Regions from separate parts of the Homo sapiens genome. Here regions 1 and 2 are each linked to region 3. Evidence: promoter capture Hi-C in 16 types of primary human blood cells and fetal thymus (Javierre and others, 2016). All regions are on one chromosome and are shown on one strand. Each heading gives the region's core, a stretch centred on a gene start or on the middle of the fragment in contact. The rest is flanking DNA. Distances are from core to core; before and after follow the strand shown.

Region 1 (2,700 bases), core at 157-2,656, 880 kb before region 3:
CTCCTTATGAAAATCCAATGCCTGATGATCTGTCACTGTCTCCCATCACCCACAGATGGGACTGACTAGCTGCATGAAAACAAACTCAGGGCTCCCACTGATTCTACATTACGGTGAGTTGTATAATTATTTCATTATATATTACAATGTAATAGTAATAGGAATAAAGTGCAAAATAAATGTAATGTACTTGAATCATCCTGAAGCCAACTCCCATGCCTGGCTGTGGAAAAATTATCTTCCACAAAACTGGTCCCTGATGCCAAAAAGTTGGGAATAAACTGGCTTAAACAACAGAAATTTATTGTATAACAGTTCTGGAGGTATCAGGTATCAGTAGGGTTGGTTACTTCCTAGGGGGTGAGGCAGAAATTAGTTCCATGCATCCCTTTAGTTTCTGGTGGGTTTTGGCAATCTTTTGGCATTCTTTGGCTCTGTTGCATTACCCTAATCTCCCTTCATCTTTACATGGAGTTCTCTCTTTGAGCACATCAGTGTCTTTTTATTTTTATTTTTTGCCCAGATTTACTGGAATTAGGTTACTGTTGCTTTCAATGGAAAGACCTAGGCCTTTGAGACTTCAGTAGGTTTGCTAATACAGTTGATTGTTGAACAACATGGGTTTAAACTGTGTAGGTCCACTTATATGTGGATTTCCTTTCGCCTCTGCTATCTCTGAGGCAGCAAGAACAACCCCTTCTCTTCCTCCATTCCTCAGGCTACTCAACATGAGGATGATGAGGATGAAGACTTTATGAAGATCCACTTCCACTTAATGAACAGTAAATGTATTTTCTCTTCCTTATGATTTCCTTAATAACATTTTCTTTTCTCTAGCTTACTTTATTGTAAGAATACAACATATAATACATGGAAAATATAAAATATATGTTAACTGTTCATGTTATCAGTAAGACTTTCTGTCAACAGTAAGCTATTAGTAGTTAAGTTTTTGGGGAGTCAAAAGTTGTATGTGAATTTTTGACTGTGTGGGAGGTCAGCACTCCTAACCTCACATTGTTTAAAGATCAACTCTAGACAGAATGGAGTGAAACTTGGAGATCCAGATGGATAAATAATCTATTTGTTTATTTATTTGAGACAGTTTCTCATTCTATTGCTCAGCCTGGAGTATAGTGGCATTATCATGACTCACTCTCACTGTAGCCTTGACCTTCTGAGATCAAGCAATCCTCCTGTCTCAGCCTCCCAAGTAGCTGGGACTACAGGTGGGCACCAACATGCCCAGCTAATTCTGGAGACAGAGTCTCCCTATGTTTCCCAGGCTGGTCTCAAATCTCTGGGCTCAGGTGATCGCCTCATCTTGGCCTCTCAAAGTGCTGGGATTACAGGTGTGAGCCACTGAACCTGGTCCATTTATTTATCTTTTGGTAGTCAAAAAAAATGAATAGCAAGGAGTCTGAAATGCACTATAGGAAAAGATGGTAGAATTAAGAAGAGGACTGATTTTTGGGATAACAGTGCAGGATAGGCCTGGCTTCAGAGTCTAGTTATTGGGCTGGATCCTAAATTAAGGACACTAAAATCTTTCTCCTTATTTAGATTCCCTAATTTGGTCACATGAATTAGCTATAATTGCAGGTTGGTCTCTACTGTAGTTTGATGCTAATCTATGCTTACACTTGTAGAGACACTGAAATAACTGCATGCCAAGAAGATGACGTTCACATTCACATCCTGACCCCGTAGCTATAATTGGACCTCTAGATCTCCTACTTCAGAAAGTATATCAAAATACAAGTGAAAAGAGTGTTTTTGGAAAAAAACAAAAACAAAAACAAACCTTGGACTTATTTAAATTCTTTGTGGAATAAAGAATTTAACCTTTTCCAAAGAGAGATCTGGCCTTTGCCCTCAGCTTCTGGGAGGTAATCTCTATGTTCTTGCAATGTCATACCTGATAGGAGTGTCTTATTTGGGAATTTAGGCTGTGCCAGACAGCCTAACAGTGCAATTTATAATGGAAGTTTTGAGTCATGTCAACCAAAATTAAGGCTGCTGAGGCAGAAATAATTTGACAAAAGTTTGTTGGAAGCCAACTGTGAGGACTGACCTGGGAAAACACACCAAAAAAGTTGGGCATATTCCACAGTCCACTACCAGTTGGAAGGCTTTTACAGGAAAGTTTAGAAGAAGGGAGGAGGACTCCTCACACCAAAATTGTCCTTTTCATTGTGGGGTGCAATACGGAGGTTATAATCATTGGCTACAGATTACAACATAAAAGCTAAAATGTTCTACATGCAAGACAACCAGTAAAAGTTCATGACTCAGAAACAAATCAGTGTTCTTTTCGATGTTAGTAGGTTACGTATTAATTAGTATGTCAACAATTTGAGGAACTCCCGACAAGATTTGAGGAACTCACGACAGGATTCTTTAGTCAGAGTCAGGATGTAAGCCTTTCAGCCTAACCTAACCTGCATCCTAAACTGTCATCATAAGTATAACAGCATCCAGAGAGCTCTGTGAGTCTTTCTAGTGCATTATTAAACCTAAGTATGGTCTTAGAGATCCTAAACTTGAAATGGTGTCAGAAGTGGGGGTAGTCTTGTGGACTACCCTTTAACATCACACTCAAAAAGTAAATAATTTGCAAACTATGTTCCTGTAATTACTAATCATGCTAAATTAATCTGTGAAGAACTGTTAACATGAACATCTGATATAAGAATAATG
Region 2 (2,700 bases), core at 22-2,521, 830 kb before region 3:
GATGTAATTGTTTCTTTTCTTTCTTCTACTTCTTTTTTTTTTCTTGGATTGAGAGAAGGCAAACTAAATTCATAAAACAAAGCAGCATCAAAGACAACTGAATCAGGACAAGAAATGGTGAAAGTGTAGCAGGGAAAACAATCTGTTACTTTATACATACCCTAACAAATGCATGAAAGTTTGAAACCTCAATGAAACCTCAAGGAAACCCCATGAATGAAAATAGGATGCTCCTCTTTCAACGATCAAGCAAGTGAACATATCAATTTGGAGATTACAAAACAATGAAAAGTGACTAACAGTATGTTTGTCAAAGATACATTCAAATGCATTTTACAAAACAACTTCAACAATAGTTCATGAACTAAGCAGGACAACGGGAGAATAAGCTGAGTTCTAGTCAGAATTATTACCAATACTTTGTGTCATAGGTGTCAGGGCCTGTTACTCCTTTATACCCCCTCCACTCTTTTGCTGAGTGAATATTCTGATTTTATTTTTGAGATAGAAATCTGTGCAAGAAAAAGTAGCAAAGCATTTTAAGGGTAAATGATTCAAAATCTCAGGCGGCAACATATGTGTGTATATGTGTATATACACACATACAAACTCATTTCTCACATTTGGAACTATTAAGTTAAAGATCAGACATATAATTTACATTACTGTTGAAGGTGAAAGGGGGTGCTATTTATAATTTTCACTGGGGAAACAGGTACAAACCTGGACTGTCCCAGGCAGAATTAGATGTATGGTGACCCTAGTTATAGGAACCACACAGACTTTGTTAAACAGGACAAAGCCAATGTTCTTTGTGCTCCTCTAAGGAGCTCCTGGAGCTTTTGGTCTTGACATATCAGAAATTTTGGTATAGGCATAATTTATAATGTAAGTGCTGAGTAGGGACCAGTATAATATTGTAGTTAAGAGCATTACTAGTTTCAAATCCTGGCTAATTAATTGTGTGACGTTGGGCAAGATACATCTATATGAGCAGCTACTCTGTGCCTTAGCTTCTTCATTTGTAAATTGAGAACAATAATTGGTTATAGTGAGAATTAAATGAGTTAATATATGGAAATTTCTTGTAGCAAGGTCTGGCTCACAGCATTATATATTATTATATATTGTCATTTTGTGTAATTATCCCCATTTTATAGATTTCAGAAGACACACACACAACCAAATGAAACAAATAAATTATATTTCAGGGTTTATCTGATGTCTTTTAGGTTCACTTTAGAATATTCAAGAAGATATCCAGGCATTAGCCTGAGCTGGAAACTTGGGTCTCCCACAGAAAGAACTATCTTCCCGGTTTTCTCTGGAAATGAGTGGAGGGAATGAAAAGGTACTATTAGCCCTTATTTTATTGGTTTGGTTTCAAGTCTCTGAGATGTCCAATGTTGATCAGACTTATGGTGGAGGTGCTACTCATATAGATGCATTTTCAAGGCAAGTGAGGTTTAAAAAATACTAAAAACATCTGGAACAACCACAGTGGGGTCCATATTTTTATGTTTACATTTAAATCTCCCATGCCCGGCTAAAACTTCTTCATCATTGTAAATAATAAAAATTACAGCTAACATTCTTGAACACTTACTAGGTGCCAGGCCCACCCCTAAGTGTTCATATGTGTTAACTCCTTTAATCCTTACAACACGTACTTGAGGTAAGTACTATTGTTATTACCATTTTGCAAATGAAGATACTGAGGGACAGAGAGTTTGAGGATTTATTTATCTCTGCATTTTGCCAGTGCCATACATACCAGGCACCTAATATTTACTGGATCAAATTTTGCATGCAGATTTATTAATATTTCCTAGCAGAGCTCATTTGCGTGGTTGATTTTTTTTTTCAGTAAAAAGAACTTTTGAGAATCTGTTTAGAGGAAAAACATTTACAGCTGCCTTGTTACCCTTGCCTATATTTGTCTGTGGTATTTTGATTTCTGCAAGACCATAAGAGTTAGTAATCACAAATAACATTTCAAATAACCTTTTAAGTACCATTTTAGGTAAGGATAGAAATATTAAATGAGATTTTCAGTTCTGGAAATCAGTCTGACAAACGAATATAGATTGCTTTTAATAAATCATTTATATTTGGCTTAAAAAGCATTATGGTGGATTTTTTTCTCTAATGATTTGATTCCTAATTATGTTTACCTCAGGACAATATCATAATTGCTTGTATTTTCCAAGCATACACCAGCTGATGAGAAGGGAGGAGGGACATTATTGGACAGTTCTGTAAATGCCAGTAGGCCAGTTTGGGGTTAATGGTGAATCTCTGACTCCTCCACGGAGTGGAAAATCTCTGCGGGAACATCCTTCAGTGGATTGCATGCCAGTGGTAAAATGCGTGAAGCACAGAGAGGAAGCCGAGCAGCGAAAGAGGCAGCAGGAAAGACATAAACAGCAGAGAACATGGGGAAGATAACACAGAGTAGCCATTAGAGGCGATTGGTCAGGGAGGCCAAATGAAGTTGGTAGTAAATTTTTATCCTCCTCAATAGGCTATTTTGCAATGGTACTTTGTATATTAAATGATTTGCTGAAAAAGCAGATACCACATTTTAATGTTCTGTGTCAGTTATAGAAAACTATAACAGGGGAAAAATAGTGTTCCCAAGGATAAGGTAATATCATTGTTTGTTTATTTGCTATATTTTAAATTTTAAAGGGCCAGACT
Region 3 (2,700 bases), core at 78-2,577:
ACATAAAATAATTCCATTGTTTTACTACTTAACAGAAAAGTCAAGAGCACAAAACTGTGATAGTCTGTTTAAATATTCGGAATACAAACCTGGGCCTATCATTCCATTTAAACCGAAGTAGAAATAAGTTTTATATACTCCTCTTTGGAGTCAGAGTATGCATGGTCACTTCCTAACTTTGGTTTGCTCTCCCAGAGTAAATGCGGTGGTTAAGTAGGTCGTTTGCTTTACCTAATATCTCCAGGTAACGTTAAAATGAACAGGCTTCTTAGTAATGAATACAGCGTTGTGATCTGAACTCAGGTCTTCTCTCAGCAGCAACTTGAGAAACTGGAGTGACATTCAACCTCCCTGCAAGAAAGGTATTTTTCTTTTCTAAAACCCTTTAAGAAATTACAAACACCAGTCTACACGTACCAAAAGTCTACCACTAGCCCCCACAAGTCAATTTCCCTCCAACAGTAAAATAAGCAAATAAGAGCCTTTGGTCCTAAATTTCCCGGGGGCAAGGAAAAACGAAAGCACTGGCTGTGGGTTGGGTGGCAGTAGCTGACCATCTGAAAAATCCTTAGCTCCTCAGCGGAGGAGCTTCCTGTTAGAAACAACCGTTTTCTCCTGTTCAGGGAGATTTCCTAGAACCTATTCCCACAAGACCCGAGACTCACCCAAGTCTCAAATCCACAAGCAACAACACTAAATTAAGAATAATTTCTCTAAACTTGGCTGCTCTCCCAGAGTTCAGGGCTGGCCTCGCCCGAAAAGCAGCTGGCGGGAGCGGTTTTGAGCCACCAGCCTCCCAGGTTCGGGAGCTGCCGCGAGGAAGATGTCTGTGTCAGAGAAGCAGAAAGGGAAAACAAATCACAACTTTGCAGACTCCACTAAGCCACAGCCCCGCCGAACGGAAGGTCAAAGTGCGGAGGAGGGAGCGGCTGCGGTTTGAGGCCCCGAGGCGACGCGGCCCCGGGTGCGGCCAGAGCTGGCAGGCGGGGTCCAGCAGCCCGGGGGACCTCACTCGTCCCCAGCTCAGAGCCACCGCCCCGGGAGGGCAAGCGCGCCAGAGGCAGCCGTCGGCGCAATGCTGGCAACGCCCGGAGTTGCCTTGGAAGTTTCCCGGGACTCGCCGCCGCCGCCCTCACCTTGCTGAACACCTCCAGGTCGTCCTCGTCCTCGTCCAGATCCAGCACCTCCGCCTGCAGCAGGGCGGAAGAGCCACTGCTGCCCGGAAAGGGGGCGCCGCCCCCCGGGCTCTCCCCGTTGGCGCCCCCGGCCGGGAGGCCCGAGGAGGGCGCCTGCGATGCCCGGCGCTCGCCCTCCATCCCGAGAGTGCGCGCCCAGCCGGCCGCCACCGCCGCCGCCAGCCCGGCTCCCCCGAGCGTGCCCATTGGCTCCCACGTCTCCTGCACCTCCCCGGCCGGCCCCGCTCCAGCCCCTCGCCCGCTGCGCAGACGCGGAACTGCCGGGACCAGCGCTGGCCCGGGCCGGGCGCATCCCCACCTGGCCTGGGGCGGGCTGGAGGGGCGGAACTGGGACTCTCGGACTCCGGCTACGTTGGAGAAAGGGTTGGCTGTACCCTGGAGAAGAGGAGAGACTCAAAGGTAGGAGGTGGGCGTCCTCGCATTGACCCAGTCGGGGGCCACCGAGTGACGGTTTCCGCAGTGGCGGGGTCTGGGAAGAAGCCACGAAGCGAACCGTCCACTTCGCGGGATCCACAGCGAGGCTGGAAGGCACCCGACCCAGCCTTGCCAAGAGAAAAAAAAAAAACAGCAATAACAATACTGTATTTCCTGTATTCAGTGGTTGCCTTTCTTCTTGGTTGTGATTTTCGAGCTAATGTAAAAATAAAGACATGAAAACTTCCCGTTTTGTTAATTGATTTTTGACCCAGTGACTGGCCTGTGCGGTCATTTCACTGTCGAGCCAGGAAAGCTGAGCTTTACAAACTATTTTCAGCCACTTTCAAATGCATCTTTACTCCTGGACGTCTTCCTGAAGTTAATGAGCAGAATGTTACCAAGACCCAAGGACAACTAGCAAGTCTGGAAAATTGCCACCGAGAAATAATCTTCAGTCCTTGCATTGCCAAGGCAAAGCTTTAATTATTTAACTGCTTATTATTCAAAAACAAAACTAAGTTCCAAAACTAATGGAAAATTTTGCCCACGTTGATATATTCTTTAATTTATCTTCAGGTTTTATTTACTTCCGTCAGCCCCACCTCTTTTCTGTAGGCCCATTTAAAAATTTTTAAATACATTAAGCTCTATGTAAGAATTCCTTATTTGGGGAAATAGAGAATATCTTTATTTCTGATTAGAGGCAAGGCCTTAATAATATATTATCTCCTAATCATTCAAATGTATTCCCATTGATTTCAGACGTGCACCCACCCTTCAGTCAGGTTGGTCACTGCCCCATGAGTATCCACATTTGTTTCTGTGCTTGATGATTTCTGTACTTTAAATGCCATCTCCTGCCCATCCTTCAGAAATTAAATATAGTCCCATCTCTTTCAGAAAGACTTTCTAAATGACAGTCTGTTCTCAATTTAGCATTTAATTTTATTCCATCTTGCAGATTGTATTTGTTTCATGTACAAGTTTTCCATTCCTTAGTAAATGATAACATTTTCAGGTTGAGGATCCTGATATGTATTAACCACAGTATCAGATGTACTCTCAAAATGCTCTCTGCTAATTTCTG

What was found. Contacts are between HindIII fragments. The CHiCAGO score rates a contact against its expected background, and 5 or more counts as called.
Region 1: a fragment that was not itself captured here is called in contact with the fragment with the promoter of SNX7 in region 3 in 4 of 17 cell types (neutrophils, total CD4 T cells, naive CD4 T cells and 1 more); the score reaches 6.4 in neutrophils.
Region 2: a fragment that was not itself captured here is called in contact with the fragment with the promoter of SNX7 in region 3 in 4 of 17 cell types (non-activated CD4 T cells, fetal thymus, activated CD4 T cells and 1 more); the score reaches 5.6 in non-activated CD4 T cells.

The regions. Positions count from the first base shown.
Region 1 is chr1:99,537,741-99,540,440 of GRCh38, reverse strand. No RefSeq gene overlaps it. Among named protein-coding and RNA genes, the nearest start is that of LINC01708, 51 kb to the right of the region's middle. The HindIII fragment of the contact is 8,149 bases long and covers 1-2,700 here.
Region 2 is chr1:99,491,502-99,494,201 of GRCh38, reverse strand. No RefSeq gene overlaps it. Among named protein-coding and RNA genes, the nearest start is that of LINC01708, 5.0 kb to the right of the region's middle. The HindIII fragment of the contact is 3,914 bases long and covers 1-2,700 here.
Region 3 is chr1:98,660,348-98,663,047 of GRCh38, reverse strand. It overlaps SNX7 (sorting nexin 7), which reads right to left and starts at 1,327. Exons shown (of 9, transcript NM_015976.5): 1 at 1,137-1,327. The coding sequence starts at 1,316. SNX7-DT (SNX7 divergent transcript) reads left to right here and starts at 2,276. Exons shown (of 1, transcript NR_189290.1): 1 at 2,276-2,700. RefSeq lists silencers at 946-1,015, 1,246-1,365, 1,386-1,525. The HindIII fragment of the contact is 2,557 bases long and covers 1-2,092 here.